7 separate regions of the Homo sapiens genome follow, and all the other regions are linked to region 1. Evidence: promoter capture Hi-C in 16 types of primary human blood cells and fetal thymus (Javierre and others, 2016). All regions are on one chromosome and are shown on one strand. The core of a region is centred on a gene start or on the middle of the fragment in contact, and the rest is flanking DNA. Distances in the headings are between cores, read along the strand shown.

The links. Contacts are between HindIII fragments. The CHiCAGO score rates a contact against its expected background, and 5 or more counts as called.
Region 2: a contact is called between a fragment that was not itself captured here and the fragment with the promoter of UTP25 in region 1, in 1 of 17 cell types (neutrophils). The highest score is 6.3, in neutrophils.
Region 3: a contact is called between a fragment that was not itself captured here and the fragment with the promoter of UTP25 in region 1, in 1 of 17 cell types (neutrophils). The highest score is 6.8, in neutrophils.
Region 4: a fragment that was not itself captured here is called in contact with the fragment with the promoter of UTP25 in region 1 in 4 of 17 cell types (fetal thymus, total B cells, activated CD4 T cells and 1 more); the score reaches 8.0 in fetal thymus.
Region 5: a fragment that was not itself captured here is called in contact with the fragment with the promoter of UTP25 in region 1 in 1 of 17 cell types (fetal thymus); the score reaches 5.1 in fetal thymus.
Region 6: a fragment that was not itself captured here is called in contact with the fragment with the promoter of UTP25 in region 1 in 8 of 17 cell types (non-activated CD4 T cells, total B cells, fetal thymus and 5 more); the score reaches 11.2 in non-activated CD4 T cells.
Region 7: a contact is called between a fragment that was not itself captured here and the fragment with the promoter of UTP25 in region 1, in 1 of 17 cell types (non-activated CD4 T cells). The highest score is 5.5, in non-activated CD4 T cells.

Annotation. Positions count from the first base shown.
Region 1 is chr1:209,826,253-209,830,224 of GRCh38, reverse strand. It overlaps UTP25 (UTP25 small subunit processome component), which reads right to left and starts at 2,253. Exons shown (of 12, transcript NM_014388.7): 1 at 2,055-2,253; 2 at 78-117. The coding sequence starts at 2,161. RefSeq lists an enhancer at 2,164-2,213. The HindIII fragment of the contact is 3,327 bases long and covers 8-3,334 here.
Region 2 is chr1:207,858,863-207,862,834 of GRCh38, reverse strand. No RefSeq gene overlaps it. Among named protein-coding and RNA genes, the nearest start is that of MIR29B2CHG, 38 kb to the right of the region's middle. The HindIII fragment of the contact is 8,351 bases long and covers 1-3,972 here.
Region 3 is chr1:207,878,152-207,882,123 of GRCh38, reverse strand. CD34 (CD34 molecule) reads left to right here. Exons shown (of 8, transcript NM_001025109.2): 8 at 1-1,152. Among named protein-coding and RNA genes, the nearest start is that of CD34, 31 kb to the left of the region's middle. The HindIII fragment of the contact is 1,562 bases long and covers 1,572-3,133 here.
Region 4 is chr1:211,678,841-211,682,812 of GRCh38, reverse strand. The region is part of intron 2 of NEK2-DT (NEK2 divergent transcript); the gene reads right to left. Among named protein-coding and RNA genes, the nearest start is that of NEK2-DT, 5.1 kb to the right of the region's middle. The HindIII fragment of the contact is 4,776 bases long and covers 1-3,972 here.
Region 5 is chr1:211,566,819-211,570,790 of GRCh38, reverse strand. No RefSeq gene overlaps it. Among named protein-coding and RNA genes, the nearest start is that of SLC30A1, 10 kb to the left of the region's middle. The HindIII fragment of the contact is 4,611 bases long and covers 1-3,972 here.
Region 6 is chr1:211,378,235-211,382,206 of GRCh38, reverse strand. It overlaps LOC124904504 (a long non-coding RNA gene), which reads left to right. Exons shown (of 2, transcript XR_007066868.1): 2 at 1-3,972. Among named protein-coding and RNA genes, the nearest start is that of LINC00467, 2.5 kb to the left of the region's middle. The HindIII fragment of the contact is 246 bases long and covers 1,272-1,517 here.
Region 7 is chr1:211,361,224-211,365,195 of GRCh38, reverse strand. The region is part of intron 7 of TRAF5 (TNF receptor associated factor 5); the gene reads right to left. Among named protein-coding and RNA genes, the nearest start is that of LINC00467, 20 kb to the left of the region's middle. The HindIII fragment of the contact is 5,726 bases long and covers 1-3,972 here.

The sequences.
Region 1 (3,972 bases), core at 1,004-3,503:
TCAAGCTTTATTATTAGATATAATCTTAGTGGGAACAACCCAAAACCAACTATTAAAAAGAAGGTAGAAAGCATTACCAGTTGACAAATCTGTGGCTTTGCTTCCTTTCTGGAAACCCTAAAAAGAAACAGGCAATGTTACATTCTAACTACTAGTATGTAGAAATTAGGAAAAGGTCAAATGAGATGTTAAATGAAAAAGGCAGAATATAACATTATAAATACATTTTAGATATAGTCATGCAAAAATTACACATGCACTTGGGCAGGGCTGGCAAGAATATGGTTAATAACTGACAAATGAAAAGTTTAAGGAGGTCACATGACAAACCCTAGAGTCACACAAGGCTCTCATCCAAAAGAAGGATACAACTTGGCTAAATAAAAGATTTCGGGGTTCATGTTTTTCTAGCAAATTTCTTAATTAGAATGTCCCTCTAAGCTGGGAGCGGTGGCTCATATCTGGAATCCCAGCACTTTAGGAGGCCAAGGTGGGAGAATCACTTGAGCCCAGGAGTTTGAGACCAACCTGGGTAACATACGGAGACCCTGTCTCTACAAAAAAATAAGAAAAATTAGCCCGGAGTTGTGTTGTGCACCTGTAGTCTCGGCTACTGGGAAGGCTGAGGCAGGAGGACCGCTTGAGCCCAGGAGGTGGTGGCTGCAGTGAGCCAGGATTGCAGCACTGGATTCCAACCTGGGCAACGAAGTGAGACCCTGCCTCAAAAAAAAGAAAAAAGAAAAGAAAAGAAAAAAAGAATGTCCCTAACTGATGACAAAGCAGCCCAAAGTAGTGGGATGAGCATTGAGATCATAACTGCACCTAGACATTTCTAGAGAAACCACAACTACTAATACACTTAGTTCCTTATCGTAATTGCAAAGATCAATGATGTCCCAACAAATTCTTTAAAAACACACACAACATATGATGTGACTATAACTAACAATTTATTGTATATTTTCAAATGGCTAGAAGAGCGGATTTTCAATGTTCCCAACGCAAAGAATTGATGTTTGAGATGATGAATATGCTAATTACCCGGATTTGATCATTACACATTGGGTACATGTATTGTTATCAAAATATCACACTGTATCCCACAAATATGTACAATCATTTTATGTAAGTTAAAAATAATTATAAAAACAGGCCAAGCGCGGTGGTTCACGCCTGTAATTCCAGCACTTTGGGAGGCCAAGGCGGGCAGATCACCCGAGGTCAGTAGTTCGAGACCACCCTAGCTAACATGGTGAAACCCCGTCTCAACTAAAAATACAAAAAATTGATCGGGTGTGATGGCGGGCGCCTGTAATCCCAGCTACACGGGAAGCTGAGGCAGGAGAATCGCTTAAGCCCGGGAGACGGAGGTTGCAGTGAGCTGAGATCGCGCCACTGCACTCCAGCCTGGGCGACAAAGCGAGACTCTGTCTTAAAAAAAAAAAATTATATATATACATATATATATGTGTGTCTACAAAAAATTCCTAGATCTCTGACCACACAAAAATCCGCCCCCATAGCTGGGCGCGGTGGCTCACGCCTGTAATCCCAGCACTTTGGGAGGCCGAGGTGGGTGGATCACCTGAGGTCAGGAGTTCAAGACCAGCCTGGCCAACATGGTGAAACCCCATCTCTACTAAAAATACAAAAAATCAGCCGGGCTTGGTGGCGGGCGCCTGTAATCCCAGCTACACGGGAGGCTGAGGCAGGAGCATCGCTTGAACCCGGGAGGAGACAGAGGTTGCAGTGAGCCAAGATCGCGCCATTGCACTCCAGCCTGGGCGACAGAGCGAAACACCGTCTTAAAAAAAAAAAAAAAATCCTCCCCCACACAACGGGCGTGCCTCTTAGCAGGAAATTACAGGCTCAACAAAAAGGCCCGTGAAGCACTCCATCTCCCGGCGGGATGGCGCCAGAATCTCCCCGGCCGAGCACAGCGGGAGCCAGGGAATAGTGGGAAAAGGCCGGAGCAGCACTATCTGGGAGACCAGAGGACCAAACTCGAGGATACATCTCTGGCGACTGGGGAGCCCTGCCACGCCCCTTCAGACCTGTCATAGAAGGGATGCTCCTCGCCGAAATCTCGAAGATGTTTCTTCTGCTTTTTAGTTAGGGTGTTGAGTAGCTGGCTCTGGCTCCGGCTCCCGCGTTTGCCCATAGCGAAAACGTCAAGTTTGCCCACTTGCAAGAGTCGCGGTTTTCCACCAGGAAGTTGTCCAGTCAACACAAGCACGTGGGCTCGCTGACTGCGCTTTACGGCGAAAGCAAGGTGCCATAAAGCAGATCCGCTTTACGTCGCGCTCGTACGACAGGCTTAGAACATCCGGTTCCCGGTTCTGCCCCCTACCGCAGCTCTTTGAAAGCACGGGAGTTCGTTCACTAGTGTTCTCAGAGCCCTAGAACGTGGGCAGCTGGGCTTCCCGGGTTGCGTGAGTCGGGGGCATGAGCTTTGTGCTTGTGTTTTGGTTATGGAAATCAGTCTGCGTAAATGTGTAGTAGCGGAGATAGTCGAATGCAGTGACTTTACAGTATACTGCAATAAAAATATCAACCAACATTTAAGGGTGCCTGAACATCTCACTTCATCACCACAACAGTGTACAGATAGGTCTTGTTAATAAGCCTGGTGTTGCAGATAAGGAAACTGATGCTTAGAAAAGATAACACGCTAGCGGCCGGGCGCGGTGGCTCACGCCTGTAATCTCAACACTTTGGGAGGCCGAGATGGGCGGATCACCTGAGGTCAGGAGTTCGAGACCAGCATGGCCAAACATGGTGAAACCCCGTCTCTACTAAAAGTACAAAAATCAGCCGGGCGTGGTAGCGGGCGCCTGTAATCCCAGCTACTCAGGAGGTGAGGCAGGAGAATCGCTGGAACCCGGGAGGTGGAGGTTGCAATGAGCCGAGATCACTCCACTGCACTCCAGCCTACTCCAGCCTGGGCGACAAAAGCTAGACTCCATCTCGAAAAAAAAAAAAAAGAAGAAAAGAAAAGAAAAGATAACACGCTAGCAAGAGAAGAGAGAAAAACCTTAACTGATGCAACCACATGCTTTTACCCATTAGGGTCTGCCGCCTGTGTGTGTTATATCAATCATGGGGCCCACAAGTCTGAGATTCCCACCCTCACCCTATTCTCGCATTTTCTGAAAGTATTGGAAGAGTCCCCGCAAACAAATCTGTTCCAGCATTCCCCATTTAACAACAGCAGAAACACATCTAGAGAGGTAAAGTGACTTTACTGAAATCACCCCAGTCAATGCTAGAAAAGGCTGTGAAACCCAATCCAGTGTCTCATAACTGAACTCGGACAAAAGGGGATGGAAAAGCTTTTGAAGGTAAAGGAACCATCTTACATTTTGATCATGCTAGTAGTTACACCTTGTATACATAAGAAAAGTTAAACTGTACAGTTAAAATGGGTGAATTTTAATGTATTTAAATAACACCTAAATAAACAGGAAAAAGCAAAAATATAAAAGTAGACTCAGTATTCTAGGGATTTGCAAGTGTGCAGGGCTGCTTGAGACCACAGGATAAAGATGGTGAGATCCTTTTCCTAATAGTAACTTATGCTACCATGTTCTATAGAAACAGAGTGCTTAAATCATAAGCCGCAGAATTCACTTGAATATTTACGGTAAAACAGGAGCGTCCAAAATGAGAGAAATGAGAAGCAAAATAATAGCTCTGCTATTGGAGTGCTACTGTGGGAAATTTGGGTTTTCCCTGATACTGTGTCACACCATAGAAGTTGTAATAAAACCATTAGAATGCGATTCTTGTCAGTTCTAGTGACCATCTACTATTCCTAATTAGATTCGGAGAGGCTGGGGTGGGGATGGGAGGACAGGGCCGGAGAATATGAGGAACACATGCAAACAGAGCGGGTGGTGCCCAGCAGCTGGGCCAGCCAAGGAACCCATAAATAGCCATTTGTCTTCTATGTAATTTCAAGATAAAAGGTAC
Region 2 (3,972 bases), core at 448-2,947, 2.0 Mb after region 1:
TAGCGTAATACACCTCAATGTTCCCATCCCCCAGTTTTTCGACTTGTAATCAACACATGGCTTTTCTCATTTCTTTTATACCTTCACCCACCTTTTTCTTACTCCCTTCTTGGATTATTTTACAGCAAGACCTAGATCCTGTATTATTTTATCTATAAATACTTTTTAATATATCTCTAAATGATAATACCTTTTAAAAACTTAACCCTAGTGGTATTATTACACCTTGAAAAAGCACAGTCATCCCTAAATATCTCCTGTCATCCAAATATCCAAATGGTGTTTAACTTTCCTTCGATGTCTCAATTTCTTTCTTTCTTTCTTTTTTTTTTTTTTTTTTGAAAACAGCCAGTTGGTTTGAGTCAGGCTCCAAACAAGATCCTCATGTTTCATTTAGTTGATGACAAATCTTCAAGGCTCTGTTAATAAAGATTATGGTCATTCTTAAAAGAATTTATGTTTTGCAATTCTACCTTTTAGATTTACTTAGCTACCCACGATTCTTCCCAGTCAGCTGCCATCAACAGCTTCCTGAGTTTTGTTAGATGATTTTTATGATTTTGAGCATTTTTTCATGATCCCTCTTGCCTTTATGGTTTAATGTAGCTAGTCATTTTTCCCTTCCTTCAGTAGATGTTTCTTGGGAGCCTGCTCTGTTTCAGGAGCTGTACTGGACACTGGGCCTACACCTGTGAAAAGGACAGACAGGGCCCAACTCCTGGAGCTTACAGTTTGACCACAGGAGAGCTGCTGCTTGGCAGTTTTCCCCGTGCGTTCACCCCAGCTGAGCAGTGTGACCACAACCGTCACTTCTGTGCAGGCAGACCTGCCACGTTTTTATAGCTTGGTGTTCATGCTCTCATGCTGTCATTTTATGTGGTTGACAAAGGTGCGCCTAGAATGTTCAAGAAGCCAGGCATGGCTTCTGTGGCAGGCCTGTGTCTCATAGCCACACGACCCGGCATTCTAACTGTGGTGCTGCTTGGGCCTTGTGTGTATCCATGTAACACTTTTGGGCTTGAGTGTGGATAGCTCTGAAAGTTAAAATGGAGAGCTTCCTGAATTGGTGGATTGTGGAGAGGCTAAATGAACACGTTTAAAGAGGGGGGCTCTGAATTGTTACAGGGCTTGGCAAAAGCCAAGTGTTGCTAATATGTTTGAGCAAATTGGATGTTTCTGTGGCTTTGTGGACTTCAGGTTGGTTTGGGGCTTTTGCCTGTTCCAGTTAGGCTACCTGCCAGCCTTTCAGATGACAGGCCCACTTTCTTGATTTGCTGTTCGTTGTGTATTGGTTAGCCAGTCTGCCTCAGTAGCTAAATATGATGATACAATTCAGGCCTGTCTTGCTGATAAAACTTTTAACTGATTTACATTTCTTTATGTAAGTAAATAATCAGACTCTGACTCCTGTGATGCTCTGATTTTGAGAATGGTCCATGATTCTTCTTATATTTTTGCATTTTCAGTTCAAATGCAACTGTATTGTAGTTACTGGATTATAGTGTCTGAGCCTTTAAAAAAATCTTAGTTAATAAAAGTATATTTTCAGATATAAAACCTAGTATCCTTATGATACATATCTCCTTGTCACTGAAGGCATGTTCAGCCTCTGATGATATGTTTTGTTTTCTTTCAGTTAAGTGGTCTTTAATCGTTTTGATTGTGTGCCCATATCAGTTAAAACTTTTGAGCAATTCCCCTTGTTTGTGTGTGTATTTATAATTTATAAAAAGTAGTGCTGTGCTAAAATACATTATAGTATTATAAAACACAAAACAAAAGACTTCAAATGGCTAGGATATATTGTATTCCCTACCTTCTTCCTAAATGAACTCTTCATGGTTCTGTCCGAGGGCAGCCTTCTACTTTGCCCTAAATTTCAGTTACTCTCACATATTCGACATTGCCCCAGCCTGTCCCCTCCTCCTTGCATCACCACTTTTTCCCCCTGCTCGATCGTTTCCAAAGGCTTTCTCATCTTCAAAAAGTCTTCTTTGGTCACCTCTCCCAGCTACTGCCCCATCATCTGTCCCTCCATATTTTCAGTCCTTGCTGTGTTCACATCCTCTCTTGACTCACACCACTCTGATGAAAGTGCTCCTGGCAAGGTCCATGGTAACTCCCATGATCCTGACTCTAGTGGTCACTTCTTCATCTTCCTCACAGGAGCTCTTCAGTTTGGCACCGCTGATCATACCCTTTTCCTTGACGCTGTTTCTTCACTTGGCTTCCAGGGTGTGTATTTCTGGCTTTCCATCTGCCTAATTGGCCATTCCTTCTCGGCTTCTCATCTCCCTGACCTCTAAACATTAAAGGCCCTGGGCACCTCCTCTCTATCTTCTCTCATTCTGTCTGTGATCCTCTCCTGTTGTATGGCTTTTAATACCATCTATATGAGTGATCTCCAGAGTTTGCTTCAGTGTAATCCTGGGAGATCAATAAGATTGACCATGAGCTGATCATTGTTGAAGCTGGGTGATGGGTACCTGGGGGTTTATTATACGGTTCTCTCTCATTTTACTTATGTTAGAAATTGTCTTTCTTTTTTTTTTTTTTTTTTTTTTTTTGAGGAGTCTCGTTCTGTCGCCCAGGCTGGAGTGCGGTGGCACAATCTTGGTTCACTGCAGGCTCCGCCTCCCGGGTTCACGCCATTCTCCTGCCTCAGCCTCCCGAGTAGCTGGGACTACAGGTGCCTGCCACCACGCCCAGCTAATTTTTTTGTATTTTTAATAGAGACGGAGTTTCACCGTGTTAGCCAGGATGGTCTCGATCTCCTGACCTCGTGATCCACCCACCTTGGCCTCCCAGAGTGCTGGGATTACAGGCGTGAGCCACCGCGCCCAGCCCAGAAATTTTCTATAATGGAAAGTTAAAAAGTCTATATGCTGTTGACCCTTAATCATTTGTCTGCAGCCCAAACTCTCTTCTGAACTGTAGACCTGTGTCTCCATCTGCCTGTTTAGTATTTCAGCTTTGATATTAACAGATATTTCACTAAACGTGTCCAAAATGGAACTCCTGGTTTCCCTCCCCAATATGTTCTTCCTGCAGTCTCCCCATCCCATTTATGGGAATGCTGTTCTTCCAGTTGCTTATCGAAAACACCTCTGGTCATGCTTGATTTCCCTCTTTCTCATCTGTCCTTCATCCAGTTCATCAGTAAGTCTTGTTGACTCTACCTGTAAAATATATCCAAAATTTCATCTATCAGAACTACTTCCGCTGCCACCACCTTGGTCCAAGCCACCATCCTCTCTCATCTGCTTCTTTATTGCCCCTTAGAGGCTGTAGTCCTCCCCGCAGCGAAAACAATCCGTGAAATGTTAAGTCACATCATGCTCTGCTGTGCCCAAACCCTGCAGTGGCTTTTCTTCTCTCTCAGTAAAAGCAATCACCCTTACTGTGGTCCATAAGACCTCATAGCTTATCTCATCACTGCCCAATAGAAATATAATGTAAGCTACACATGAGGGTCACGTAGGTAATTTAAAAGTTTTTGATAAAGGAAAAATGAATGGAAAATGAACCACTCGAAGTTAATTTTGATAATGTATTTTATTTAGCCCAGTATGTTAACAGTATTTTCACTTCTGAGATATGTTACGTTGCTTTTGTTTTGTTTGTTTGTTGTACTAAGTAATAGTCAAAGCACATCTCCATGTGAACTAGTTGCATTTCATGTACTCCATAGCCTTACATGGCTAGTGGCTGCCATCTTGCACAATACAGGTCCATACGACCTTACCCGGCTTTATTACGTTACTTCTGTATCTATCTCCTGTTACTGTTTTCAACTTGCACTTCGCTCCAGCATCACTGGCCTCCTGCTGTTATTTAGGTATACTAGGCATTTCCTGTTTTAGGGCCTTTGTACCTCCAGTTCCCTCTGTTTGGAATGCTTTTCCCCAGATAGCCCTGTGGTTAAATCTCTTACTTCCTTTGGGTCTGTGCTCAGATGTTACTTTCTCAGAG
Region 3 (3,972 bases), core at 1,103-3,602, 1.9 Mb after region 1:
CAGGGTTTTTAGAGTTAGTTAACAGGAGGCATAAGAAAAAGTGTGTCCACTCCATCTTGTCTGGAACTGGAAGTTCAAGTCGAATATAAGAGAGAGGAGAGGAAATTACAAGCCATGAGACTGGAGAGTTAGGCAGGTTCTACACCAGCTATTCTCAAAGCCCTCTTACACTCTTAAAAATTTAGAACTTCAAAGAGCTTTTGATTTTGAAAGTTACATCTATCAATTATTACTGTTTCAAAAATTAAAATTGAGAAAATTTTATTTATTAATTTGTTTAAAAATAACAATAATTATTCAATTACATGATAATGTAAGTAATGCTTTTCTTAATGAAAAATAATTATATTTTCCAAAACAAAAACAATTAGGAAAAAGAGTGTCATTGTTTTAGACTTTGGTAAATCTCTCTAATATCTGGCTGAAGAGAAGAATGCTGATTCTTTTTTTTTTTTTTTTTTTTTGAGACGGAGTCTCGCTCTGTCACCCAGGCTGGAGTGTAGTGGTGTGATCTCGGCTCACTGCAAGCTCTGCCTCCCGGGTTCACGCCATTCTCCTGCCTCAGCCTCCCAAGTAGCTGGGACTACAGGCACCCGCCACCACGCCCGGCTAATTTTTTTGTATTTTTAGTAGAGATGGGGTTTCACCGTGTTAGCCAGGCTGGTCTCGATCTCCTGACCTCATGATCCACCCACCTCAGCCTCCCAAAGCGCTGGGATTACAGGTGTGAGACACCGCGCCCAGCCCCCGAATGCTGATTCTTTTATCTGCTTCTGTATTCAATCTGTTGTGATATGATGGGTAGCCTCTGAAACACTCCACTGTATACTTGTGAAAGAATGAATGTGAAAAAGGAAAATAGATTTGTAGTATTATTATTCAAATTGTTTTGACCTCAGAGACCACTTGGAAATGTTTTAGGGAACCCCCAGAGGACCTTGGATCATGCTTTGAGAACCGCGGCTCTAGATATGTTACTATTTCAGTAGCATCTAAGTACATGTGGCTGCTGAGCACTTGTAATGTGGCTAGTGCAAATGAGAGACAGGACTTCCAGCTATATGTAATTTAATAAACTCAAATTTAAAAACTGGAACCTCATAAAATGTTTTGTTGTTGTTGTTAAACATGACCTTATAGTTTTGGTAGGAATACATTTCACTTTAACCCTTCAAAATTTAGCATTTGAATTGAGATATGCTGTATATGTTAAATACATGACAGATTTTGGGGACTTAGAAAAAAATAATGTAAGATATTTCATTAATAGTTTTTATATTGAGTATTTTTTGCTATGATAATATTTTTGATATATTGGGTTAAATAAAATGTATTTTAAAATTAATTTAAGCTATATTTATTAAAATCTTTAGAATGTGGATAATAGAACATTTAAAATGACATACGTGGTTCACATTTTATTTCTCCTGGAGTGTACTGCTGTAGATGAATTTAGATGATGAAGGCTTTGTGTGTCATGTAAAGCTTATTCTTTATTTTGAAGGTAATGTAGAGCCATTGAAAAGTCTGAAGTAGAGAAGTGACATATCAGATTTGCATTTTAGAAAGCTTACTCTGGCTTCAGTGTGGAGCATGGACTGAAGAAGGAACCAGTTAGGGTTAGGAGGTGATTGCATTATTGAAGGGTAGGAAGACTGTGGCCTGAAGAAAAGTGGCTAAACCAGAGACATATGGCTGGGCGCAGTGGCACACGCCTGTAATCCCAGCACTCTGGGAGGCTGAGGCAGGTGGATCACTTGAGGTCAGGAGTTCGAGAGCAGCCTGGCCAAAATGGTGAAACCCTGCCTCTACTAAAAATACAAAAGTAGCCGGGCATGGTGGCGCCTGCCTGTAATCCCAGCTAATCAGGAGGCTGAGGCACAAGAATCACTTGAACCCGGGAGGTAAAGATTGCAGTGAGCCGAGATCATGCCACTGCACTCCAGTCTGGGCAACAGAGTGAGACTCTGTCTCAAAAAAATAATAAACAAACAAACAAACAAATAAATAAATAAATTGGAGACCATAGTGGAAAGATGAAATCAACTGGATTTGGTTCTTAGGTGTAATAATGGCATTTTGGTTATGTAAGAGAATGTTCTTATTTCTAAGAGATGCACACAGGAATCTTTAGGGATGAAGGGCCATAATGTCTGTAATTTACTTTCAAATGTCCATCATATTCATACACACATACACAGTATATCTGTGAGATAATAAGAGTGAAAAGGTAAATAGCATCTTAGTAGTATTATGAAAAAAATATATATGGAGAGAGGGAAAGGGGAGAAAAAGCAAATATGAGACAAAATATTAGCAATTTTGAATCTACATGAAAGCAATCTAGTAAATGATGAATCATTTTAGTCTTCTTCCAGCCCTTTCTGTAGGTTTGACAATTTTCAAAATAAAAAGATGGGGAAAAAATGAAAAGAAAAAAAAAACTTTAAAAAGTCTTGGTAATCACTGATTAGATATGAGAGAAAGGGAGTGACTTTCTGGTTCCTTGCCTGGCAACAGAGTAGACAGCACTGTCCTTCCCAAGAGGGAAGTGCAAGAGGAGAAATCGAATTGGAGGGATGATGAGTTCGTTATGGAGTGTGTGGACTTTGAGGTGCTCTGGGCTCCAACAGGCAACGTGCAACCCTGAAGTTTTTGAGAGGGAAATGTGGTAAAGATGCAGACATGGGTGTCTTTAGAATCTAGATGGTAATGGAAGGTACTGGGGGACCCTGGAGTATCAAGGGCATGTGTGGAGAATGAGAAGAGATGAGGTGTGAGGATGAAATCCTGGCGGACACTGACATTTCAGGGTCAGCAAAGAAGGATATTGGAGTAGACAACTTCCAAGGTGGCCCATGACACCACCTCTTCACAGGCAGGCTTTTGTGTAGTCAGCCCCTCTCACACTGTATCAGTGTTGGCCTGTCAGACAAGAGGGGTGGAAGTGATGGCATGTCACTCCTGAGATTACATCATAAAAGACATTGTGGCTTTCATCTAGGCTTGCTACATGCTCATTCTTGTGGATCCCTTGTTCTGGGGGAAGCCATCTATCATGTCATGGTAGGCTACAGGGAGTTCCATGTGGGGAAGAACTGAAACCTCCTCCCAACAGCCATGTGAGGAAGCTTGGAAAACCTTAGAAGAGTATCCTTTAAAAAAAAGTTTTAAATTAAACACAAATAAATACATAAACAGTACAACTGCAATCTCATGAGACATCCCAAGCGAGACAACTCAGGTAAGCCATTCCACCCAGCTAAATTGCTCCAGATTGCTGACCCTAAGAAACTGCGTGAGGCCAGGTATGGTGGCTCATGCTGTAAACCCAACCCTTTAGGAGGCTGAGGTGGGAGGATTGCTTGAGGCCAGGAGTTTGAGACCAGCCTAGGCAAATAATGAGAACCCCTGTCTCCACAACAAATTAAAAAATTAGCCAGGCATGATGGCACGTGCCTGTAGTGCCAGCTACACAGGAGGTGAGGCAGAAGGATTGCTTGAGCCCAGAAGGTTGAGGCTGCAGTGAGCTGTGTTTGTGCCACTGCGCTCCAGCCTGGGCAACAGGGCAAGATTTTGTCAGAAAAAAAAAAAAATCAAGAAACTGTGTGAGAGAATCCATGTTTTTTTTTTATTATTATTATACTTTCAGTTTTAGGGTACACGTGCACAATGTGCAGGTTAGTTACATATGTATGCATGTGCCATGCTGGTGTGCTGCACCCAGTAACTTGTCATTTAGCATTAGGTATATCTCCTAATGCTATCCCTCCCCCCTCCCCCCACCCCACAACAGTCCCCAAAGTGTGATGTTCCCCTTCCTGTGTCCATGTGTTCTCACTGTTCAATTCCCATCTATGAGTGAGAACATGCGGTGTTTGGTTTTTTGTCCTTGCGATAGTTTGCTGAGAATGATGGTTTCCAGCTTCATCCATGTCCCTACAAAAGACATGAACTCATCATTTTTTATGG
Region 4 (3,972 bases), core at 1,008-3,507, 1.9 Mb before region 1:
CAGCAGGCCTCCATGCTTTTACCCACAGTTTCCCTTCTCCTAATTCCAACTGCTCCTTTAGATGGGATTCAAGTGTCACCTCCCCAGGAACATTTGCCCTGACCCCCATGCCCTGCCATCTTTATCAGAATCTGGGTCCTCCTCTTTGCATTTTAGGCAAAGCTCTTTCAGAGCAATTATCATACTACATAGAGAGAGCTGATTTACACAGCAGTTCCAGTGAAGTTTTGGTGAGAGGGGATGGAATCACAACATTTAGAGCAGGAAGGGTTCAACAACTTCATTTTACAGAGCCCAGAGAAGGGATGTTGAAAAGCTAATGCAGACATAGCTACTTAACAAAAATTGTCATTCGGGGTCAGACCAATGACTAAACAGCCCAGTGTTCCAGTGAGGTGAAATGGATTCCCTCGGTCACATAACTCATTAAGACAGAACTAGGCCAGACACGGTGACTCACGCCTGTAATCCTAGCACTTTGGGAGGCCAAGGCAGGAGGATCACCTGAGGTCAGGAGTTCAAGATCAGTCTTGCCAACATGGTGAAACCCCACCTCTACTAAAAATACAAAAATTAGCCGGGCATGGTGGCGGGTAACTGTAATCCCAGCTACTCGGGAGACTGAAGCAGGAGGATTGCTTGAACCCAGAAGACGGAGGCTGCAGTGAGCCAAGATGGCACCCCTGCACTCCAGCCTGGGTGACAGAGTGAGCAAACAAACCAACAAACACACAAAGAAGACAGAACTAGAAGAGCCTGGGAACCTGGAGCTCAAGCTCACTGCTCCTACCATCACTGTGCTGCCCCCGATGGAAAAGGTAGGCGTGTCCTCTAAAACCTCCTAAGTCCCTTAGAAACACATTATGGTCCTGTGCAAGGTGGTTCAGGCTGCTATAATAAAATACTTTAGACTGGGTAATTTATGAATAACAGAAACTTATCGCTTGCAGTTCTGGAGGCTGGAAAGTCCAAGGTCAACGTGCCAGCAGATTCAGTGTCTGATGAGAGCCCGTTTCTCATAGATGGCATGCTCTATGTGTCCTCACATCATGGTAGGGCAAACACATGGCAAACAAACTCCCTGGGGCCTTTTGTATTAATATAAGGGCACTAATCACTCCCCCAGAGGCTCCACCTCTTAATACCATTACCTTGGGGGTTAGGTTTCAACATACGAATTTAGGGAGGTCACAAGCATTCAGACTCTAGCAGGCCTCACCGTCCATAATTAGTTTTAACATTTGTCTTATCACATTTAGGTGATGAATATTCTTAGAGATAACAAATATCCTGAATTTACAAGTAACAGGAAAAAACATGGAAAATTATGAATGTCTGTCTTTGTCTGAAAGTTTATCCTTATATTGAAAAGAAATGTTTTTCCCTAATTTGTACCCTTGGGTATAAATTCAAAACTATTGCCTTTTAAAATGTGATGGAGCTCTTAACTAAACACTGTTTGGTTTCAAAGATAACTTTCTTCTCATCATATCCTCCAGCTGCCTGCCATTTAGCTGAAGCTGTCTCTCAGTCTACATCTTGTCCTGTTTATCTCACGTGGTATGTGGCTGTTAAGAACAGTCTGCCTAACACCTCATTCTTTGTTCTAGAACGTGGTTATTTGTTGAGCATATAGTATGTCATGCATCTTTTTTTTAAAAGCATCTCTTAGCTTCTGATTGTTATAAACAAAGAATCTCTCCTTTTTTCTTTCTAGAAATCTTTTTTAATCACTCGAAAGAATTGCCATAATCCCTGACTTCAAATTGCTTCAAGTAATTGTGGAGATAAGACTTATACACAAATGTCTTGTCTGATTTTAAATTCTACACATGCAAATCTGGGGATTTCCTGTAGGGACAGGCGGAGTAGTGCTGCCGCGCAGGCGCCAGCTCCTCGTTTATTATGCAGTGATGTACAGCCCTCTAGTGGGTCTTTAATGCAACATAAAAAAACGAAGCTGAGGGCAATGAAATATGGCTTTGTTCATTCATCCATTCATTTGATGTACAAGTGCTGGGTTCCTGCTTTGTTCCAGGCACATTTTAGGTGCTGGGAATACTGCAGTAAATCAAACAAACAGCAACAAAATCAGATACATTAGTTACTGGAGACTAAGAAGATGGAGAGGAGAACAAATTTGGGATGAAGATCAGGAACTTGATTTTTGGCACATTAAGTCTGGGATGCTCATTAATCTTCAAGTAGCTTCTTTTAAACATTAATTAGGTGCCGGATGCAGTGGCTCACACCTGTAATCCCAGTACTTTGGGAGGCCGAGGCGGGTGGTTCACTTGAGGTCAGGAGTTTGAGACCAGCCTGGTCAATATGGTGAAACCCTGTCTCTACTAAAAATACAAAAATTAGCCAGGCATGGTGGCCTGCACCTATAGTGCCAACTACTCGGGAGGCTGAGGCAGGAGAATCTGTTGAACTCGCGAGGCGGAGGTTGCAGTGAGCCGAGATGGCGCCACTGCACTCCAGCCTGGGTGACAGAGTGAGACTCTATCACAAAAAAAAAAAAAAAAAAAGAAAAAGAAAATTAAAATTAAAATTAATCAGGCCAGGCGTGGTGGCTCACGCCTGAAATCTCAGCATTTTGGGAGGCTGAGAGGCTTGAGCCCGGGAGTTCAAGATAAGCCTAGGCAACTTAGTGAGACCTCATCCCTACAAAAAGTTAAAACAATTGGCTAGGCATGGTGATGTGCACCGGTGATCCCAGCTAACTCAGGAGGCTGAAGTGGGAGGATTGCTTTAAGCCCAGGAGGTTGAGACTGCAGTGAGCTGTGATCGTGCCACTGCACTCCAGCCTGGGCCATAGAGTGATACCCTGTCTCAAAAAATAATAATAATAGCAATCAGTGTCTCTATGGACATGTACAGAGTGCCTGTGGGAGAAAATGCAAGTGCAAATACTCTCTTATTTGAGATTTCACCAAATTTAAATGAAAACTGACAACATGAGCACAGTTAGCAAGAAAAGTGTGAAGACAGTGAATTAGACCATGGGTGTGGGGAGAGTGGTTATCGAGAAGTTCAAGGGTTGGCCCCACTCTTATAGAGTTGCTCATCTTCTTTCTCTGTTTAAATGGAATCATCTCAGTTCTTCGTTTGTTTTCTTCTTAATTCTTGCCACAATTTGTCACAGTGGAGTTTCTCTGTGTACTTAGGTTACATCCATCTCTTCCACCTACAGGACTATATGTCTGTCCTATTCACTGTGGTATCCTCAGCATCTGGCACCTGACTCAGCCTCTATTTATACTTGTTGGAGGATGAATTTTCCATTTAATAAGGCAGAGAAGATACATGCACATGAGAAGCTAGTAATATGGCCTAGTATAATTCTAAATGAGTAAAAACACAGTTGATTACTCTTAAGAGTAATTAGAAGATAGATCATAGTGGGTTGAAGTCAATCAGGAAAAATTTCAGAGAAGAAATTGGGCATGAGCTGAGACTTAAAGAATGGATGGAATATGAAGGAAAAAGGAAAGAAGTTATAGGGGAAAGGATGTTCCCTGTAACCTGTCCCTGTTTGACTCCCACATGCTTCTCATCTCCCAGTGTCTCTTTCTATTCTGGTGTCTAGTGGTCTCTGCTGGGCTGTCCTGCCCTCACTCATGATGCGGGCTAACTCTGGCCAACCTTTAGGGTTTGTCATGTGAGTGATTCCTATGCTACCCTTTTTTTTTTTCTTTTTTTTGAGACGGAGTCTTGCTCTGTCGCCCAGGCTGGAGTGCAGTGGCGCGATCTCGGCTCACTGCAAGCTCCGCCTCCCGGGTTCACGCCATTCTCCTGCCTCAGCCTCCCCAGTAACTGGGACTGCAGGCGCCTGCCACCACACCCAGCTAATTTTTTTGTATTTTTAGTAGAGGCTGGGTTTCACCATGTTAGCCAGGATGGTCTCGATCTCCTGACCTCATGATCCGCCCACCTTGGCCTCCCAAAGTGCTGGGATTACAGGCTTGA
Region 5 (3,972 bases), core at 529-3,028, 1.7 Mb before region 1:
TAATAATACAAAAATTAGCCAGGGCTGGGCATGGTGGTTTACTCCTGTAATCCCAGCACTTTGGGAGACTGAGGTAGGTGGATCACTTGAGGCCAGGAGTTTGAGACAAGCCTGGCCAACATGGGGAAACCCCATCTCTACTAAAAATACAAAAATTAGGCAGGTGTGGTAAATTAGCATGCCTGTAGTCCCAGCTACTCAGGAGGCTGAGGTGGGAGGATCACTAGAGCTGGGGAGATGGAGTTTGCAGTGATCCGAGATAGTGCCACTGTACTCCAACCTGGGTGACAGAGCCCAACCCAGTCTCAAAAAAAAAAAAAGGTTAAAAAGTTAAGGGGTTGAGAGGTATAAAGAGATTATAAAGGTTAAAAGTGCCATGACAACTAGTTTAAATTTGGTTTCATAGGAAAGGACGACACTACCAATTTCACTATCAATAATTTTTTGAGTAGATAAATAAGAAAGTGGGAAAGGTACTCTACATATTTGGAATGACATGTAGGCAAAGTGAGACAGGAAGACAAATCAGTTTACCAGATAATTCAATGCTAAAAGTCAAATACACATGTCCACATGTACATATACTACATTTCAATTGATTCCACACACACATTCTTCTTATATTTTAGCATTTCTGAAATCAGAATGCATAGTACAATCAGTGGTATCTTATGATTGCCATTGGCCAAACTTTTTTCTTATCTCGATGTGTCTATTGTTCAGGGTTCAGAAAACAATTATCTTCCCAGGCAATATGGTCTTTCAAAAGATTATATGACAATATTCCCTGAAATTTCATGTACTATGCATTGCACATTTAGATGAAAGCTGTTCCTTGAATTGGATAAAAATAATTTAAAAAGTCAAGTAACATTGCTTTTAAATAAATTTCATAGACAATTCTGAGCCTTCAGAATTGACCATCATTTTCCCCCCCACTACTCTATTCAGCCTTTTTTGTTGTTGAGTTTTGCTCTGTCGACCTGCTGGACTGCAGTGGCGCCATCTCAGCTCACTGCAACCTCCGCCTCCTGGGTTCAAGGGATTCTCCTGCCTCAGCCTCCCAAGTAGCTGGACTACAGGTTCGCGCCACTACGCCCAGCTAATTTTTTGTATTTTTAGTAGAGACAGGGTTTCACCATGTTGCCCAGGCTGGTCTCGAACTCCTGAGCTCAGATGATCCACCCCCTACAGCCTCCCAAAGTGCTAGGATTTCAGGCGTGAGCCACCACACCCAGCTCAGCCTTTTTTCTTTTAAAACAAGTAATTTGTGGCACTTTGTTCTTATTTTAAAACCAGTTTCACTTCTAGATTATAAACTCTATTCGGTCAAGACTATGTCTTTTCCATATTTATTTCCTAAGGATATAGCACAGGGACCAGCACATTGCAGGTATTTAAAGTTGTCTGGAATATTTAGGAATGGCAGGAATGGAAAAAGATATACAGTAGTTACACTATTAATAGATAAGATACACTGAGTACTAACTTTTTTTTTAATTTTTATTTTTTTTGAGAGAGGGTCTGACTCTGTCGCCCAGGGTGGAGTGCAGTGGCGGGATCTTGGCTCACTGCAATCTCTGCCTCCTGGGTGCAAGCGATCCTCCCACCTCAGTCTCCTGAGTAGCTGGGACTACAGGTACCCGCCAACATGCCTGGCTAATTTTAGTATTTTTTTTTTTTTTATAGAGATGAGGTTTCGCAAATATACTGGGCACTTCTGATCACTTATTACTGAGCACTTACTACATATCAGGGCACATATGCTTTCATGTATCCTTACAACCCATTAGGTGTATTCCTTTATTCCCTTTATTTTACAGACAAACAGATATTAAAGCACCTTACCCCAAGTCATATAGTCAGTGATGGAGCCAGAACTGGAACTCAGCAAAAGATCTAGTCCTCTGCAAGTCACTTGCATTCCCACAACTTTGGACTTTTCAACAACCCACTTAAGTAAATTCAGAATGAAGAGTTCTTTCTAATTTTCATCCAATGAGCAGCAATAGACAAAGCATAGGCACTGAGTACTAGCAAAGGAGGGGCATTAAAAGAAATAAGAAAAGTAATTTTTATACAAAAGTGAGCCGGGCATGGTGGTAGGCACCTGTAATCCCAACTACTCAGGAGGCTGAGGCAAGAGGATCCCTTGAACTGGGAGGTGGAGGTTTCAGTGAGCTGAGATTGTGCCACCGCACTCCAGCCTGGGTGACAGAGCAAGACTTTGTCTAATAAATCAATAAGTACATAAAATAATTTTCAGAGCATTTAATATTTATTAAAAAAAACAACAAAATAGTCAGAAATCAGAACTTTCTTACCTAAATTAGACCTTCTTAAATTATGGTTTAGTACCATTTATTTTTAATTACATAAGGGAGAGAAATTCCAATTTTTTAAAGGATTTAGGGCCTCTCTTGGTTTTAATCCAGCCTTGTGGACAAGTACCATTCTTTACAAACTAGTACTGTTTTCACATAATATTGTCTGGCTGGCTTAAATATCTTTAGGGTTACACTGAAAACAGTGCATCTTTGGGGGGCAGAGGTGATTGAGGTAAATGTGGATGAGGAGTCAAAGGGAGAAGACCATCCACTTTTCAACAGGGGTGCTGTTAGCATTTGCGTGAGACCATTCATCAGTGCAGAAATGTCCCATGCATTGAGTTTAACAACTCTGGCTTACTTCCACATGAATGCCTGTAGCTATCGTTTTTCCCTCCCCATTATCAAGACACCCCAACTGTTTCAAATGTGTCCTAGAGAGGCAGTATTGCCATGCCAGAAACCATAGATGGCTAACCCAGCGGGTCCTCTTTCAGTGTCTCCCACAGGAACCAGACACTACATCTAGTCCCCTCTTTTTACATAGATATTTGTGTTTTGTATGAACATCAGTTCCATCTTTAAGTCCAGGAACTGTGATTCCATGCCTTGATAGTCAAATTGAAACTCTGAAGTTTTGACTTCTGAGGTTCATAACCTTTGATACAATGATCACTATAGCACAAGGTAGCCAGGAACTCCTCTGATCTGTTAGGAAGATTGTTCTGCCCAAGAAAACAGTGCAGGTATGGCCTTCTGAATTGGCCATGGAAACCCTGGGTTAGCTCTATTGAAATATAAAGTAAAAATGGGTTTCTGGCTTTATAAAAGAGGTTCAAAACCAGGGCCTTCTATTAAAATACAAATTTAAATATTTGCATCAAAACTTAGGGCCAGACGCGGTGGCTCATGCCCATAATCCTAGCACTTTGGGAAGCAAAGGCAGGTGGATCACTTGAGCCCTGAAGTTTGAGACTGGCCTGGGCTCTTCTTTCTTCTCTTTACGTTTTCTCTTTTTGTCCCAGTTAGAGTCTCCCGAGGAACAAAGCTCTTCTGATGCCTGTGTTTATTCCATAGACTCATTTTGGACTTACGATCTCCAGCACTTTAAAATAATAAATTTGTCCTGTTTTAAGCCACTAAAGTTGTGGTAATTTGTTTCAACAGCAATAAGAAACTGATATACATATATTCTAGCTTAAACACTAAATTTTTATATTATTATTACGATGATTTCTCTCTTTTAGAGTTCAATTGTAAATGGTGGTATAACAGTTTTCTTTTGTTGTTGTTGTTGTTGTTTTTTGAGACAGGGTCTCAATCTGTAGCCCAGGCAGGAGTGCACACTGGTGCGATCTCCTCTCACTGCAGCCTCACCTCCCGGGTTCAAGCGATTCTCCCACCTCTAGTCTCCTGACTAGCTGGGACCACAGGCATGCACCACCATGCATGGCTAATTTTTATATTTTTTTGGTAGAGATGGGGTTTCACCATATTGCCCAGGCTGGTCTTGAACTCCTGATCTCAAATGGTCCTCCTGCCTCAGCATCCCAAAGTGCTGGGATTACAGGCAGGAGCCACTGCTCTGGTGGTATAACATTTTGTTTAATGCTTATGCAACAGTTTATGTTGCATAAGTAAGTTC
Region 6 (3,972 bases), core at 145-2,644, 1.6 Mb before region 1:
TTTGATTTGTAGGTAAGAATTTATCTGTAAAGAACAATTTTGGCTTTTCCCAAGAATCCAGTGCAACACTGAATAGTAGCCGGAGGTACTTATTTCTTACCAGGAGTTATTTTGGATTGCATCTTAGGTTTCATTCAAGATATCTTCTGCAGGTTTATGGTGTGTGTGTGTGTGGGTGTATAGGCAAATTATGTTCTTTTCGTAGTTTACCATATCGGTTTTTTTTTTAATCAGCAAATGACTAAGTTTTACCAAGTATTTTCAGTATCAGTCTTTGAGATGATTGTATGGCCTTTTTTCCATTACTCTACAATAAAATAACTACAATAATAGATTTTCTAATGGTGAGCCAAACTTAGAATCCTGGTATCTTATTTTTTCAATATATTGCTGGATGCAATTTGCTGTGTAGTTAATTTTGGATTTTCATGTATGCACCTAAGTTAGATTGGCTTATGGTTTTCTTTTGCTGTCCTTGTCTAGTTTTGGTATCAGGTTGTGCTAGGAGTCAGACAGGTTAACTTATTTTTGTATGACCTGGAATAGACATAGCATGTGTGAATGATACATTTCTTAGGTTTTGAAGAACTCATCTTTAAAGCCTTCTGGGTGTGGTGCCATCTTAATGGATAGTTTTGTTTTTTATATAGCGTCCATCGTTATTGATACCTAGAATTTTTTCTTTTGCTTCTTGAGAAAATTAGTTTTTTCTAGAAAAGTATTGGCCGGGTGCGGTGACTCACGCCTGTGATCCCAGCACATTGGGAGGCCGAGGAGGGCGGATCACGAGGTCAGGAGATCGAGACCATCCTGGCTAACACGGTGAAACTCCGTCTCTACTAAAAATACGACAATGAAAAATTAGCCGGGCATGGTGGCGGGCGCCTGTAGTCCCAGCTACTCAGGAGGCTGAAGCAGGAGAATGGCTTGAACCCGGGAGGCGGAGCTTGCAGTGAGCTGAGATTTTGCTACTGCACTCCAGCCTGGGGGACAGAGCGAGACTCCATCTTTAAAAAAAAAGTATTTCAGCTATATTTTCTAACATTTAAAAAAATCTCATATTGTTCTCAACCATTCTTATATATTCTTATATATATATTCTTATATATTGTATTGGAGTCTTTTTCTTGATCATATTTATCAAACCAGCTTTTGGTTTTATAGATAAAATCTGTCTTAAAAGTAATTTCTCTTTCATTAATGTATGCCTTCATTAATTTCTTCTTATCTCTTTGGGTTTATTTTGTTCTTTTTATAGAATCTTGGAAGCTTAACTTTCCTTTAAAATGTTTAATATGAAATATTACCAGAATGTACAGTTACAGAAAATAATATAATGAACACTTGTATACCAACCATCTAGCTTTATCCCATTTTAACATTTTCTCTTATTTGCTTCAGATTTTAACATTCAGTTAGAGCTCCTTGTGAAACTGCCTGCAATCTCATTCTCCCTCTCTTCCTCTCTGAAATTAACTACTTCATTGAATTTGGTATCTGTCATTCCCATGAAAGCTTTTATGTATGCTCCAAATACATGTAGCGATGTTAAGTAGCATAAAGTACTGTTTTATGCTTTTTAAACCTAATATAAATGATATGCATGTCACTTACTTTTGCCACCTATAATTATGTATGTAAAATTTATCCAGGATGATTCCTGTAGTTCTAGTTTTATTTTAACTGCTGAATAGTATTCCATTGTATAATTGTACCACCATTTATCCATTCTCCAGTTGCTAGCAATTTCATGATTCCTGATTTCTGTCATTATAACATGAGTTAGTTCTTGCACACAGCTTCTTAGACATATGGTAAGAATTTCCTTAGGATAATGTCTAGAAATGGAATTGCAAGGTGGAAGGGTTTGCACAGTTCAACTTTGATATTGCCAAATTGTTCTCCAGTGGTTGTACTAACTTACCCTCCATCAGCAATGTAGGAGAGCTGCTGTTGCTCCATTCCATGCCAACACAGGTTATTTTTTTGCCCCAGTTTTTTTGTTTTGTTGTTTGGTTTTTTTTTTGCTGTTACCAACTGCTGACAGTAAATTTTCTTGTACATGTTTCCTGGTACACGTGTGCAAGAGTTTCTCTGACTATAAAGCTAATGCAGTTATTAACTCTATTTTGTTTTCGGTATGTTTTTTAAAAGCATGTACATGTCCCCCTCATTTGAGATTTCTCCCTGTTAATACTAACACTTAACTTATTCATAGATATATCTCACTCATTTTTTTCTATGTATCATGCTTCCTGTTCTCTTTACTGCCTTTGGTTTGACAGTCTTTTTTTCCAGTTTTTTTCCCGCTTTAGTGGTTTGAAAGTTATATTTGATTTTTATTCTATGAATAGTAGTTACTCTTCTAACTCATTTAAAGGTGTATCTTTATATATATGTGTGTGTGTGTGTTTAGAATTCATCAGTATCCATATGAGGCAGTCTGTGTAGTGGTTAAGAGTGGAGCCTGTGAGGCCAGACTGCCTGGATTCAGATCCTAGCACTACCACTTATTAGCTGAGTAACCTAGAGCTTATTACATAAACTCTCTGTGCCTCAGTTGTTTCATCTGTAAAGTGGGGATAATACAGCATATACCTCATGAGGTTGTTCTAAGATTAATATGTTAATATATGTAACATTCTTAGGACAGTGCCTAATGCTTGGATCTCTTTACCAGATTTTTCATCTATGGAATGGGCAGAAGACTTGCCTATCAGAGTTGTTACAAAAATTCAGTGCATTAGTGTATTCATTCATTTTAATACACTGAGCACCTGCTGTGCACTTTTGAATTAGACATGGTTCTCGGCTTCAGTGGTCTCATAAGGGAACAGACATGAAATGCAATTTCAATACGATTTAACCTTAATACTCTTCCCATGTTCTCTCTTGTCCCCCTTCTAATCTGTGCTCCACATTAAGAGGCAAAACATTAATCAGATCATGCATCCTCTGCCCATCATATGTTAACTTTCATTATACTTTACATAAACCATAAACTTCTCACCATGGCCTGAGCCCTCAGGTTCTAAACCCTGTGCCTCCCTCTCTAACCTCATCAACTATCATTCTCCTGATTTCTACCAAATTCCCACCACACTATCCTCTTCTCAGTTCCTTGAGCCAACACTCTTCAGTGCCCTCTGCTCAGATTACTGATCCACCCTGACAGCTCTTCCCACGACTGACTCATCTTTCAGATCTCAGCTTGATTAGGTCAGGCAGTTAGTTACAAGCAACGGAATCCACTCTGGTTGAGAAAGAAAAGGACTTTTAAAAAATCATGTAGCTCACAGAATCTCTAGGAGAGCCAGAGGCCAAATATGGAAACAACGGTACCCAAACACACTAGACGATCTAGTGAGAATCCATTGCTGCTGCCACCATTGACACCAAAACTGCAACTTCCACAAACACTGGCGGTCCCCACTGGTAGCCAGAGTTAGGCATGTTTCCTTCTTCATCTTGCTCACTTTTTTTTTTTTTTTTTTTTGGAGATGGAGTCTCACTCTGTCACCCAGGCTGGAGTGCAGTGGCATGATCTCAGCTCACTGCAACCTCTGCCTCCCAGGTTCAAGCAATTCTCCTGCCTCAGCCTCCCGAGTAGCTGGGACTACAGGTGCCCGCCACCACGCCCGGCTAATTTTTGTATTTTTAGTAGAGACGAGGTTTCACCTGTTGGCCAGGCTGGTCTCGAACTCCTGACCTTGTGATCCACCCTCCTCAGCCTCCCAAAGTGCTGGGATTACAGGCGCGAGCCACTGTGCCCAGCCTGTCTTGCTCACTTTCAAGTTGAAATTTTGCATTGGCTATGCCTGCTTGGTGGGGCCTAGGTCACATTGCTGTGCTACAAAGGGGGTCAAGGAGGCAAGTTTTCTCATAGGAAATGCCTCAGACTTTATAAGCGTGTTGAAAAGTGCTGGGTATTCAGAAAACATGTCACATGAACATGAGATAATGTGTTACCTC
Region 7 (3,972 bases), core at 850-3,349, 1.5 Mb before region 1:
AGTTTGTTTTTGTTTGTTTTTTTTTTGAGACAGCCTGCTCTGTTGCCCAGGCTGGAGTACAGTGGTATGATCTTGGCTCACTGCAGACTCTGCCTCTCGGGTTCAAGCGATTCTTGTGCCCCAACCTCCCGAGTAGCTGGGATTACAGGTGTGCACCACCACACTCAGCTAATTTTTGTATTTTTAGTAGAGACAGAGTTTCACCATGTTGGCCAGGCTGGTCTCGAACTCCTGACCTCAAGTGATCTGCCTACCTTGGCCTCCCAAAGTGCTGGGATTACAGGTTTGAGCCACCATACCTGGCCCCAGCTTTAGGATTCTACAATATCCATGAGACAGAGAATCAGGCCAATATCAAAATTCTCAGTGCTGATTTTCTTCCTTGCCCTGGGAGTATATGACTATGGGTTAAGCGTAGTTATTATCATCTCTCAACTATTCCCATATAAAACCTATCTCCTTTGAGGGTTATCTTCAAATCAGTTTTGTTTGTTTGTTTGTTTGTTTTTTGAGATGGAGTCTTGCTCTGTCGCCCAGGCTGGAGTATGGTGGCACAACCTTGGCTCACTGCAACCTCCACCTCCTGGGTTCAAGTGATTCTCCTGCCTCAGCCTCCCGAGTAGCTGGGATTACAGGCACATGCCACCATGCCTGGCTAATTTTTGTATTTTTAGTAGAGACGGGGGTTTCACCATATTGCTCAGGCTGGTCTCGAACTCCTGACCTCATGATCTACCTGCCTTGGCCTCCCAAAGTGCTGGGATTACAGGCATGAGCCACAGCGCCTGGCCTCTTCAAATCAGTTTTAAGTCAACGCTAGTTCTTCCTCCTGTCAAGCACATTTCCATGCTGCCTCCAATCACGGACTGGCTGCCATGGGCAGGAGGAATGCCACCTGATTTTAATTTCAGCCCATACAAATTTGTTGCCCTCAAAACCATAGACTACATTTGCAAGAAGAAATGGTTGCTTTTTCCCTAATCATTAAAATATTTTTTTTTGTAGACTGCCTATATTACAGTAAAAGCAAATGTTTGTTAGGTGTTCAAGGTGATCCATGCAGTTTAACTAAATATTTATCATCAATTTTCATTCGGGTTAGGGTTGGCTTCTTTGGTGACAGGCTGTCCTAAATAAGGTTCCGGAGAATAACTCCCCCAGCCATCCCAAGCTCTGGTGCTGAGGCAAGTTCTAGAATACAAACCAACTGGAGATTTGGGCCTGACTGTAAAGATCATTTTTAGAGCTAGAAAGCAATTCTGCTTTTTTTTTTTTTTTTTTTTTTGAGACAGGGTCTCACTCTGTTGCCCAGGCTGGAGTACAATGGCATGACCTTGGCTCACTGCAATCTCTGCCTCCCTGGCTCAAGGGATTCTCCCACCTCAGCCTCCCAAGGAGCTGGGACTACAGGGTGCGCCACCACACCTGGCTGATTTTTGTATTTTTTGGTAGAGACAGGGTTTCAATATGTTGCCCAAGCTGGACAATTGTGCTCATGCACAAGAAAGGTAAACCCTATTCTTTTTGCAGCCAAGACAACCTCTGGTTTGATATGTGACAAATTTATAGACTCTTCGCTGATTTTTTTTTAAATCCTTCTCAGAATATACATTTTTTCAAATGGTTTTTAAAATAAAAGAAATATGTGCTTATGTCAAACAACATAAGATGAAGAATAAAAAGTAAAAGGCCTCTTCTGTCCATCTCCACACCCACTTTCCTAGTTTTACCAGAGTGTCAGTAAGGATATACACATTTTTAACACAAATGAGAACATACTATATTTAATTTTTTACATATATCTCATTTTTATCAGCTACATAGTATTCTAAAATATGAATACATAATTATATAGTTGGTGTTTTAATGATAGACTTACAGGTTGTTTTTAGCTTTGGGTTGTGGGGTTTTTTTGCTATACAAACAATAGTAGAATAAACATCTTTGTGTGTCTTTGTGTATGTGAAATCACTGTATAACTTAAGAAAGGATATCTGTAACATAAATCCTAGCAGAAATGCAGGGTCAATGTGTGGATTCATTTTTTATTTTCATAGAGATAACCAAATTGCCCTAAAAAAAGTGAGATATCATAAGATGTTTTAATCTTTGTCAATTTGATGATATTAAAGTATATTTCTTGTTATAATGTATATTTATTTAGGAGTGAAACTGAGCATCTTTTCTTACATTTATCAGCCAAATGAATTTTTTTCTGGAACTGCCCATATACTATATTTCTTTGCCTATTTTTCCATTAAGTTGAGTAGGTTATTAACATGTAAGGTTTCTTTGTATATTAAGGAAAATAGCCCCCCCCTTTTTTTTGTCTGATCATATGTTGCAAACTTTTCCCTCCAGTTCACTGTTTGCTATTTGACTTTATGGTATTTTTTAAAATCATACAGAAGTTTTAAATATTTACAAATTTATCAAAATTATGGCTTCTGGTTTTGTGTTAGTCATTTAAGAAAGGGCTTTTGTTGTTGTTGGGGGGGTTTTTTCGTTTGTTTATTTTGAGACAGTCTCACTCTATTGCCCAGGCTGGAGTGCAGTGGCGCGACCTTGGCTCACTGCAACCTTGGCCTCCCGGGTTCAAGGGATTCTCATACCTCAGCCTCCCAAGTAGCTGGGATTACAGGCGTGCACCACCACACCCAGCTAACTTTTGTATTTTTAGTAGAGGCGGGGTTTCACCATGTTGGCCAGGCTGCTCTCGAACTCCTGACTTCAAATGATCCACCCACCTCAGCCTCCCAAAATGCTGGGATTACAGGCATAAGCCATCGCACCAGCCTCTTTAAGAATAAAAAAATTCACTCATTTTTCCTTCTAGTATTTTCATGATTTCTGAAGTTAACTTCTTATTTTGGAATAATTTTAGATTTACAGAAAATACAGAATAATACAGAGCATGACATATTTTAATGCCTAAAACTTTGCTCCACCTGGAATCTATTAAAAAGACTGAAGTAGAAATCAAATTTTATTTTTATTTTGTGTAATTCATTATTATTTTAAAGTATTTAAAAGGTAATAACATACATATTAAAACACGATTTTAAGTCCATTTTGTTTCAGTATACTTGGTGATATACAAGAGTATATCACCATAAAACCAGGATTTGTAATCATGAGAGGAGTAACCCCAGAAGGTTCCCAAACCAGGTGGAGGCAATGGAATCAAAATTAGAAATAATTACTGTGGGCCAGGCACGGTGCTGTAATCCCAGCACTTTGGGAGGCCGAGGCAGGCGCATCGCCTGAGGTCTGAAGTTCAAGACCAGCCTGGCCAACATGGTGAAACCCTGTCTCTACTAAAAATACAAAAATTAGCCAGGCATGATGGCGGGTGCCTGAAATCCCAGCTACTCAGGAGGCCGAGGCAGGAGAATTGCTTGAACCCAGGATGCAGAGGTTGCATTGAGCCGAGATCATGCCACTGCACTCCAGCCTGTGACAGAGCAAGACTCTGTCTCAAAAAAAAAAAAAAAAAAAAAAAACCCGAATAATTATTGTGATGGTTAATTTTATGTGTCAACCTGGCTAGGCTATGGTGCCCAATTGTTTGCTCAAAACAAGTCTATATGTTGCTGTGAAGGTATTTTGCAGATGTGATGAAAACAATTGGTAGACTTGAAGTAAGCAGATTACCCTCCATAGTGTGGTGGGCCTCATCCAATCATTTGAAGGCCTTCAGAGCAAACACTAAGGTTTCCTGAAGAAAAAAATGCTTCTCCTCAAGACTGCAGCATAGAAACTCCAGCCAGAGTTTCCAGATTGCTGAGCTGCCCTGCAGATTTTGGACTTGCTAGCCCCCACAACTGCAAGAGCCAACTTCTTAAAATAAATCTCTCTATATATGTATATATCCCATTGGTTCTGTTTCTCTGGAGAACTCTAAAATAATTAGCCTTAAATTTCTCAGAACTGTATGTCTTTCTCCATCCTCGATGGAACAGAGAGTAAACT